2 separate regions of the Homo sapiens genome follow, and region 1 is linked to region 2. Evidence: promoter capture Hi-C in 16 types of primary human blood cells and fetal thymus (Javierre and others, 2016). All regions are on one chromosome and are shown on one strand. The core of a region is centred on a gene start or on the middle of the fragment in contact, and the rest is flanking DNA. Distances in the headings are between cores, read along the strand shown. Region 1 holds the start of MIR6879 (microRNA 6879). Region 2 holds the start of MAP4K2 (mitogen-activated protein kinase kinase kinase kinase 2).

Region 1 (4,223 bases), core at 1,128-3,627, 210 kb before region 2:
CAGCCTGACCCCTCCTCTAATGGCCCAGAGCATCTGGGGTGAAGGATCGACCTGGAAGATCAAGGTGAGGCCCCGTGGTGGTGGGAGAGGCCCAGGAGTGAGTTTGTGGACGTAGCCATCAAGGCTGGCCCACATGAATGGAGCAGCCCTGGGCCAGGGTTCTGGTTCCAGCCAACCACCACCCAGGGGACACCGCTGTCCCCATGCTCCAGCTTCCTCTTCCATGAACAGGGAGGGGTGTTGCATAAGATGATCCCTGAGCTCTCCGTGGTTCTAGACTGCTCCAATCTGATGACCAGACATGCACAGAGGATGTGAACTCTCCCTCTTCTGGGTTCACACAGCCCTTTAACCGTTCCACTCCCGACAGGCCTCACTGTCCACCTCTGATTCTAGTTGTTTCCACATATGTGTCTGTGATTGGGAGAGATGTGGGTGGACGGGTCTAACCCTTGGGCCTTGACCTGCCTTGACCAGCATTTGACGGCCCTGATCTCATCTGACCTGCTCCACCCACATAGGAGATGTGTGCGGTGTGCCCAGGACAGTCCCCACTCTGCCTGCAGAATCCCCCCTTTCACTCTCACAAGTGTCCTCATTTTCAACTAAATGCAATTTTGTAGCCTGAATCAAACATTGGAACACAAAAAGTATATTAGTGGAAAAACGTGAAATTCAAATAAAATCTGTAATTAAGATAATAGTAATTCACCAGTGTTGATTTATTAGTTTGGACAGGCCACGGTTAGGTAAGATGGGGAAGCAAGGTAAAGGGTATATGGGGGACCTCTGACCTCTGTACTATCTTTGCAAGTGTCCTTCTTTTTTTTTTTTGAGACGGAGTCTCACTCTGTTGCCCAGGCTGGAGTGCAGTGGCACAATCTCGGCTCACTGCAAGCTCCGCCTCCCAGGTTCACGCCATTTTCCTGCCTCAGCCTCCTGAGTAGCTGGGACTACAGGCGCCCGCCACCATGCCTGGCTAATTTTTTGTATTTTTAGTAGACACGGGGTTTCACCATGTTAGCCAGGACGGTCTCGATCTCCTGACCTCGTGATCCGCCCGCTTCAGCCTCCCAAAGTGCTGGGATTACAGGCGTGAGCCACCGCACCTGGCCCCTTCCTTTTTTTTTTTTTTTGAGACAGGGTCTTGCTCTGTCGCCCAGGAGGCTGGAGTGCAGTGGCACGATCACAGCTCACTGCAGCCTCAACCTCCTGGGCTCAACTGATCCTCCTGTCTGAGCCTCCAGAGTAGCTAGGACTATAGGTGCGTGCCACCACCCCCAGCTGAGGTCACACAGCAAAGAGTCAGACTCTTGAGCCAGGCTCCATGGCCTCTCGAAGCTTCATACTGGCCTTGGGTTATCCTCCCTAAAGCCCAGTGATGTGGGTGTCATCATCACCATTTCAAGGCATAGAAACTGATGCTCAGGGTAGTGACGTAGTAACACCACAGGGACGTTAACTCAATCTCAGTCCACAGCATGTGTCCTGCCTCTGGCACCATGGGCCTCCCATGGTGGGGGCCCAGAGAAGGAAGGGATCCTGCCTCTGGTTTCCCTCTGGGGCCACGGGCCCCTCTGGGCATCTGCTGAGAAGGCAGCCACACGTCCATACATGTACACAAAGGGTAGGAGCTGCCCACCTCCTCCACCAGCAGGCTCTGGAGCTCCCGCTGGCAGTCCTGCATGCGCTGGCGGTCTGCGCTGTCCACTACCCAGATGAGGCCATCGGTGCTCTCAAAGTAGTTCCGCCAGTAGGACCGCAGGGACTTCTGGCCACCCACATCCCAGATGTTCAGCTTGAATCTGGGCAAGGAGCGGGTGACAGGAGGGTCAGCTGGGCCCCTCTCCCACCTTCCCTGCCCTGCTCTGGGCTGGCCCTCCCATGGGGCCCCTGCTCACCCTCGGTGCTCCAGGGTCTTGATGTTGAAGCCCAGCGTTGGGGAGATGGTGTCGATGTCCTCCCCATTGAACTTCTTCAGGATGGTTGTCTTTCCAGCATTGTCCAGGCCACTGGGGCGCAGCAGGTTAAGGAGAAGTCCCTGTTCTCTGCCAGGTGGTGACATTGTTGCAGAGCCCCTTAGGGGACTCATTATTTCCCACCATGTATCAAACTGAGTTGAGCACATGCCTGACCATAATCGGCCCACAATAAATATGAAAGTATCAAATTATAAATATCATCTCTACTGACCAAAGGCTCCTTAATTTGTTGAACACCTACTATGTGCCAGACCCTCTTCTGGGTGCTAGAGGACAAAGCCCTGCCCTTAGGAAGCTTACACTCTAGCGGGAAGACAGTCAATAAAGTACAAACAAATGAGAAAAGAAGGCCCTGCCAGATCCCGGCTAGCGCCATCAACACAACAGAGAGGCTTTCCAAGAGGGCCATCGGAGGAGGCTCTTTCAGCTCAGGTGCCGGGGAAGGCCTCTCTGAGGTGTCTGGAGCTGAGACCCAAAATACAAGGAGCAAGCTTTTTGAAGAACTAAGGTAAGAACAAATATCTGGAGGCAGCCACCCTCATTTGTTTCTGGAATATTCCAGACCTGCTACTGCACAGTGCAAATTAATGGGTGTGCTTACCTGTGGAAGGAACCACCCTCCTCTATCTTCCCAACACTGCAGCTCAGTTGGGCATGGTGGGGTGGGCGGGTCCTGGACTCGACCACCTTTCCCTGCTCATCGGAGCTGGGGCAAATGACCTAGGCCCAGGAGAGGGGTGAGGAGGGCATTTCCCCTGAGGCCCAGCCTTAGCCCCTGGAACCTAGCCGCTGATGACCCCCTGCCCCCAAGCCATCATCCATGTTTCCTTCCCCTCTTGATCATTCCCACTGGCTGATGAGCTTGCCGTTCTTTCTCCCACCTTAAAAAGAGCAAATAGGCCGGGCGCGGTGGCTCACACCTGTAATCCCAGCACTTTGGGAGGCCAAGGTGGGTGGATCATCTGAGGTCAGGAGTTCGAAACCAGCCTGACCAACAAGGTGAAACCCCATCTCTACTAAAACTACAAAAATCAGCCAGGCGTGGTGGCGGGCCCCTATAGTCCCAGCTACTCGGGAGGCTGAGACAGGAGAATTGCTTGAACCCGGCAGGCAGAGGTTGCAATGAGCCGAGATCACACCACTGTACTCCAGCCTGGGCGACTCAGCGAGACCCCGTCTGATTAAAAAAAAAAAAAGAGCAAACAAAGCCCTTGATCTCTCTGCCCCATCTAGTTATTCATTTATATCTTTCCTTTTACAGGAAATCTCAAAATAGTTGTTTGTGCTCACCCCCATTTCTGCCTTCTTGCTCTTTCAAGAACACACTCCCATCAGGCTTTTGCTGCTGCTGTGGCCAAAACTGTCCTTACCAAGGTCAGTCCCCAAAGACCTCCCTGTGGCCCTCTAGTGCTGGGACAGCGCTCAGTCATCTTCTGTTCCCCACTCAGCACCTGATGGAGTGGCTCACCCTCCTCCCCAGCACATGCGCTGCCCTTGGCACTGGGACACACCCTCACCTGGTTCTGCTCCTCACCTGACTTCATCCTGGTACAACCGGGTTCTCTTCTCTGGCCACGCTCATCCCTGGGTGACCTCATCCAGGATCACAGCTTCAAATACCATCTCTATCCTGATAACACCCAAATGTGCACCTCCCACACACTGGACCTCAGTGCCTACATCCAGCTGCCTGCCTGACACTTCTGGGCTGTCTCGGAGGCATCTCACATGGCACACACAGGCACACACAGGGTTCTCATCTCCACCCTGAACCTGCTCCTCCCCCAGTCCTCTCCATCTCAGCAAATGGTTCCTCACCCTTCTAATTGCTCAGGCCAGAAACTTCCATGACCTCACTACTTCCATCCTGGTCCAAGCCACCATCCTATCTCGCCTGCGTCACTGCAGTGGCCTAACTGGTCTGCGATTCCTTCTCTCCACTGCACTTCTCACTGAAAGGGAAAACCAAAAACCAAAAGGCCCTAGGTGAGGGGGTTCCCAGTCAACGCTCCTCCTCCCCACTCCAGCCATACTGCCCTCCTCACCAGTCCTCTGAACACGCCAGTTAGTCCTCCCAGGGCCTCTGACTTGCTGTTCCCTTTGCTTTAAAGTTTCCCCCCCCCCCGAATTGCTATATGGTTCAACCCTCGCCTCCCTCATGTACTCAATTGTCATTTTTTTTTTTTTTAACAGAGTTTCGCTCTTGTCACCCAGGCTGGACTGCAATGGCGTGATCTCAGC
Region 2 (2,500 bases), core at 1-2,500:
CAAGATCAACTCGAGCGCCATCAAGCTGCAACTCACGGCACAGTCGCAAGTGCAGATGAAGAAGCAGAAAGTGTCCACCCCTAGTGACTACACTCTGTCTTTCCTCAAGCGGCAGCGCAAAGGCCTCTGAACTACTGGGGACTTCGGACCGCTTGTGGGGACCCAGGCTCCGCCCTTAGTCCCCCAACTCTGAGCCCATGTTCTGCCCCCAGCCCAAAGGGGACAGGCCTCACCTCTACCCAAACCCTAGGTTCCCGGTCCCGAGTACAGTCTGTATCAAACCCACGATTTTCTCCAGCTCAGAACCCAGGGCTCTGCCCCAGTCGTTAGAATATAGGTCTCTTCTCCCAGAATCCCAGCCGGCCAATGGAAACCTCACGCTGGGTCCTAATTACCAGTCTTTAAAGGCCCAGCCCCTAGAAACCCAAGCTCCTCCTCGGAACCGCTCACCTAGAGCCAGACCAACGTTACTCAGGGCTCCTCCCAGCTTGTAGGAGCTGAGGTTTCACCCTTAACCCAAGGAGCACAGGTCCCACCTCCAGCCCGGGAGCCTAGGACCACTCAGCCCCTAGGAGTATATTTCCGCACTTCAGAATTCCATATCTTGCGAATCCAAGCTCCCTGCCCCAAATAACTTCAGTCCTGCTCCAGAATTTGGAAATCCTAGTTTCCTCTCCTTCGTATCCCGAGTCTGGGACACAAAACTCCGCCCCCAGCCTATGAGCATCCTGAGCCCCGCCCTCTTCCTGACGAAACTGGCCCCGGATCAGAGCAGGACCTCCCTTCCGACCCTCTGGGAACCTCCCAGAGGTCCAGCCCATCTCGGAGCATCCCGGAGGAAATCTGCAGAGGGTTAGGAGTGGGTGACAAGAGCCTGATCTCTTCCTGTTTTGTACATAGATTTATTTTTCAGTTCCAAGAAAGATGAATACATTTTGTTAAAAAAAATATAAAGCGCAAGTCCATGTTTATCTGGGAAATTGGGGATGGGGCGGGGAGTGGAGCGCCCCCTCTTCCCTCTGTCTTCTGGCTCCCGGGACTTTGCGCTCCCTACCTGTGGAGCGCGAGCGACAGTGGCGGCGGAAGGACGTAGGCTCCGCCCCGGCCTTGGGGCTTCCCCGCGCCGCCGAGGGCCCGTCCCGCGGGCGCCTCCTCCCGGACTGGCGGTGGGGCATCCCCGGCGCGGCCCCGCCCCCGGGCCTCAGCCCCGCCCCCGCGGCCTCAGAGCCACGGGCGCCCGCCCCGCCCCGCGCCGCCCCGCGCCGGCTCCGCAGCTCGCGCCCGCCCGCCTGCCGGCCCGCCCGGCGCCGGGCCATGGCGCTGCTGCGGGATGTGTCGCTGCAGGACCCGCGGGACCGCTTCGAGCTGCTGCAGCGCGTGGGGGCCGGGACCTATGGCGACGTCTACAAGGTGCGACGGGACGGGCGGGAGAGCCGGGAGGAGGGTGCCAGCCCCGCACCCCGCGGCAGGATCTAGCCCCCGGCCCCGCCCCCCATCCCGCTTCACCCTCCGCCCCTGCAGGCCCGCGACACGGTCACGTCCGAACTGGCCGCCGTGAAGATAGTCAAGCTAGACCCAGGTGAGGGCCCGGGTCGGGCCTCTGCGCCAGAGGAAGGGCAGAGCGCCCGCGGGCGCGGGGTGCGGGCGGAGGGTTGACGTTTCCGAGACCCCTGAGAGGCGTGCCCCGGGAGGTGCTGTCACCTGCACCTGCCTGGCCCGGAGGGAGGCACTCTGTGCCCATTTTGCAGATGGGGGCACTGAGTCAGGGCAACCCCAGCGCGCCTTCCCCATGATGCTTTGTGCTTCCCAGGGGACGACATCAGCTCCCTCCAGCAGGAAATCACCATCCTGCGTGAGTGCCGCCACCCCAATGTGGTGGCCTACATTGGCAGCTACCTCAGGTGAGGCTGCCTTATCCTCCTGGCCCCAGGCAGCCCCCATGTGACCTGCTTTGTGCCCACCCCAGCTCTTTGTCCCTAGGAATGACCGCTTGTGGATCTGCATGGAGTTCTGCGGAGGGGGCTCCCTGCAGGAGATTTACCATGGTGAGGCCAGGGCTCCAGGCCCCAGCAGGCCCCAGCCTTCCCCCACCCCTACCCCACTGGGGTACCAGAGGGGACTCTGGGCCCTGGACTTGGGCTCCTCTCCACTCCTGCCTGGCTGTGTGACCTTGAGAGAAATACTGTCCATCTCTGGGTTCAGTATCCTAGACTAAACTGGGAGGGGACGTGGCCAACACCGCTTTCATTTAACAGTGCCTGCTGCTTTTCCCACACACGGTAGCCTGGGAGGGTGGGCATGACCCCCGGGCCCCCAAGCCAGCCTCTCCCTTTTCCTTTCAGCCACTGGGCCCCTGGAGGAGCGGCAGATTGCCTACGTCTGCCGAGAGGCACTGAAGGTAGCTGGGCCTGTGAGGTGCCCACACCTCTGGTCTCCAGAAGCTGTGGGCCAGGAGCCCAGATGACCAGCAGGGAGGCGGGTGGAGTGCCTCGGGTGGGGC

Evidence for each region. The method cuts DNA at HindIII sites, captures the fragments that hold promoters and counts their contacts. A CHiCAGO score of 5 or more calls a contact.
Region 1: a fragment that was not itself captured here is called in contact with the fragment with the promoter of MAP4K2 in region 2 in 6 of 17 cell types (endothelial precursors, total B cells, erythroblasts and 3 more); the score reaches 7.4 in endothelial precursors.

The regions. Positions count from the first base shown.
Region 1 is chr11:65,016,153-65,020,375 of GRCh38, reverse strand. It overlaps ARL2 (ARF like GTPase 2), which reads right to left. Exons shown (of 5, transcript NM_001667.4): 2 at 1,902-2,012; 3 at 1,643-1,805. It overlaps ARL2-SNX15 (ARL2-SNX15 readthrough (NMD candidate)), which reads right to left. Exons shown (of 11, transcript NR_037650.2): 2 at 1,902-2,012; 3 at 1,643-1,805. It overlaps MIR6879 (microRNA 6879), which reads right to left and starts at 1,871; the gene lies at 1,806-1,871. The HindIII fragment of the contact is 196 bases long and covers 2,280-2,475 here.
Region 2 is chr11:64,801,964-64,804,463 of GRCh38, reverse strand. It overlaps MAP4K2 (mitogen-activated protein kinase kinase kinase kinase 2), which reads left to right and starts at 1,250. Exons shown (of 32, transcript NM_004579.5): 1 at 1,250-1,410; 2 at 1,522-1,579; 3 at 1,811-1,901; 4 at 1,981-2,045; 5 at 2,343-2,398. The coding sequence starts at 1,315. MEN1 (menin 1) reads left to right here. Exons shown (of 10, transcript NM_001370259.2): 10 at 1-948. The coding sequence ends at 130. RefSeq lists silencers at 1,111-1,290, 1,441-1,620. The HindIII fragment of the contact is 47,852 bases long and covers 1-2,500 here.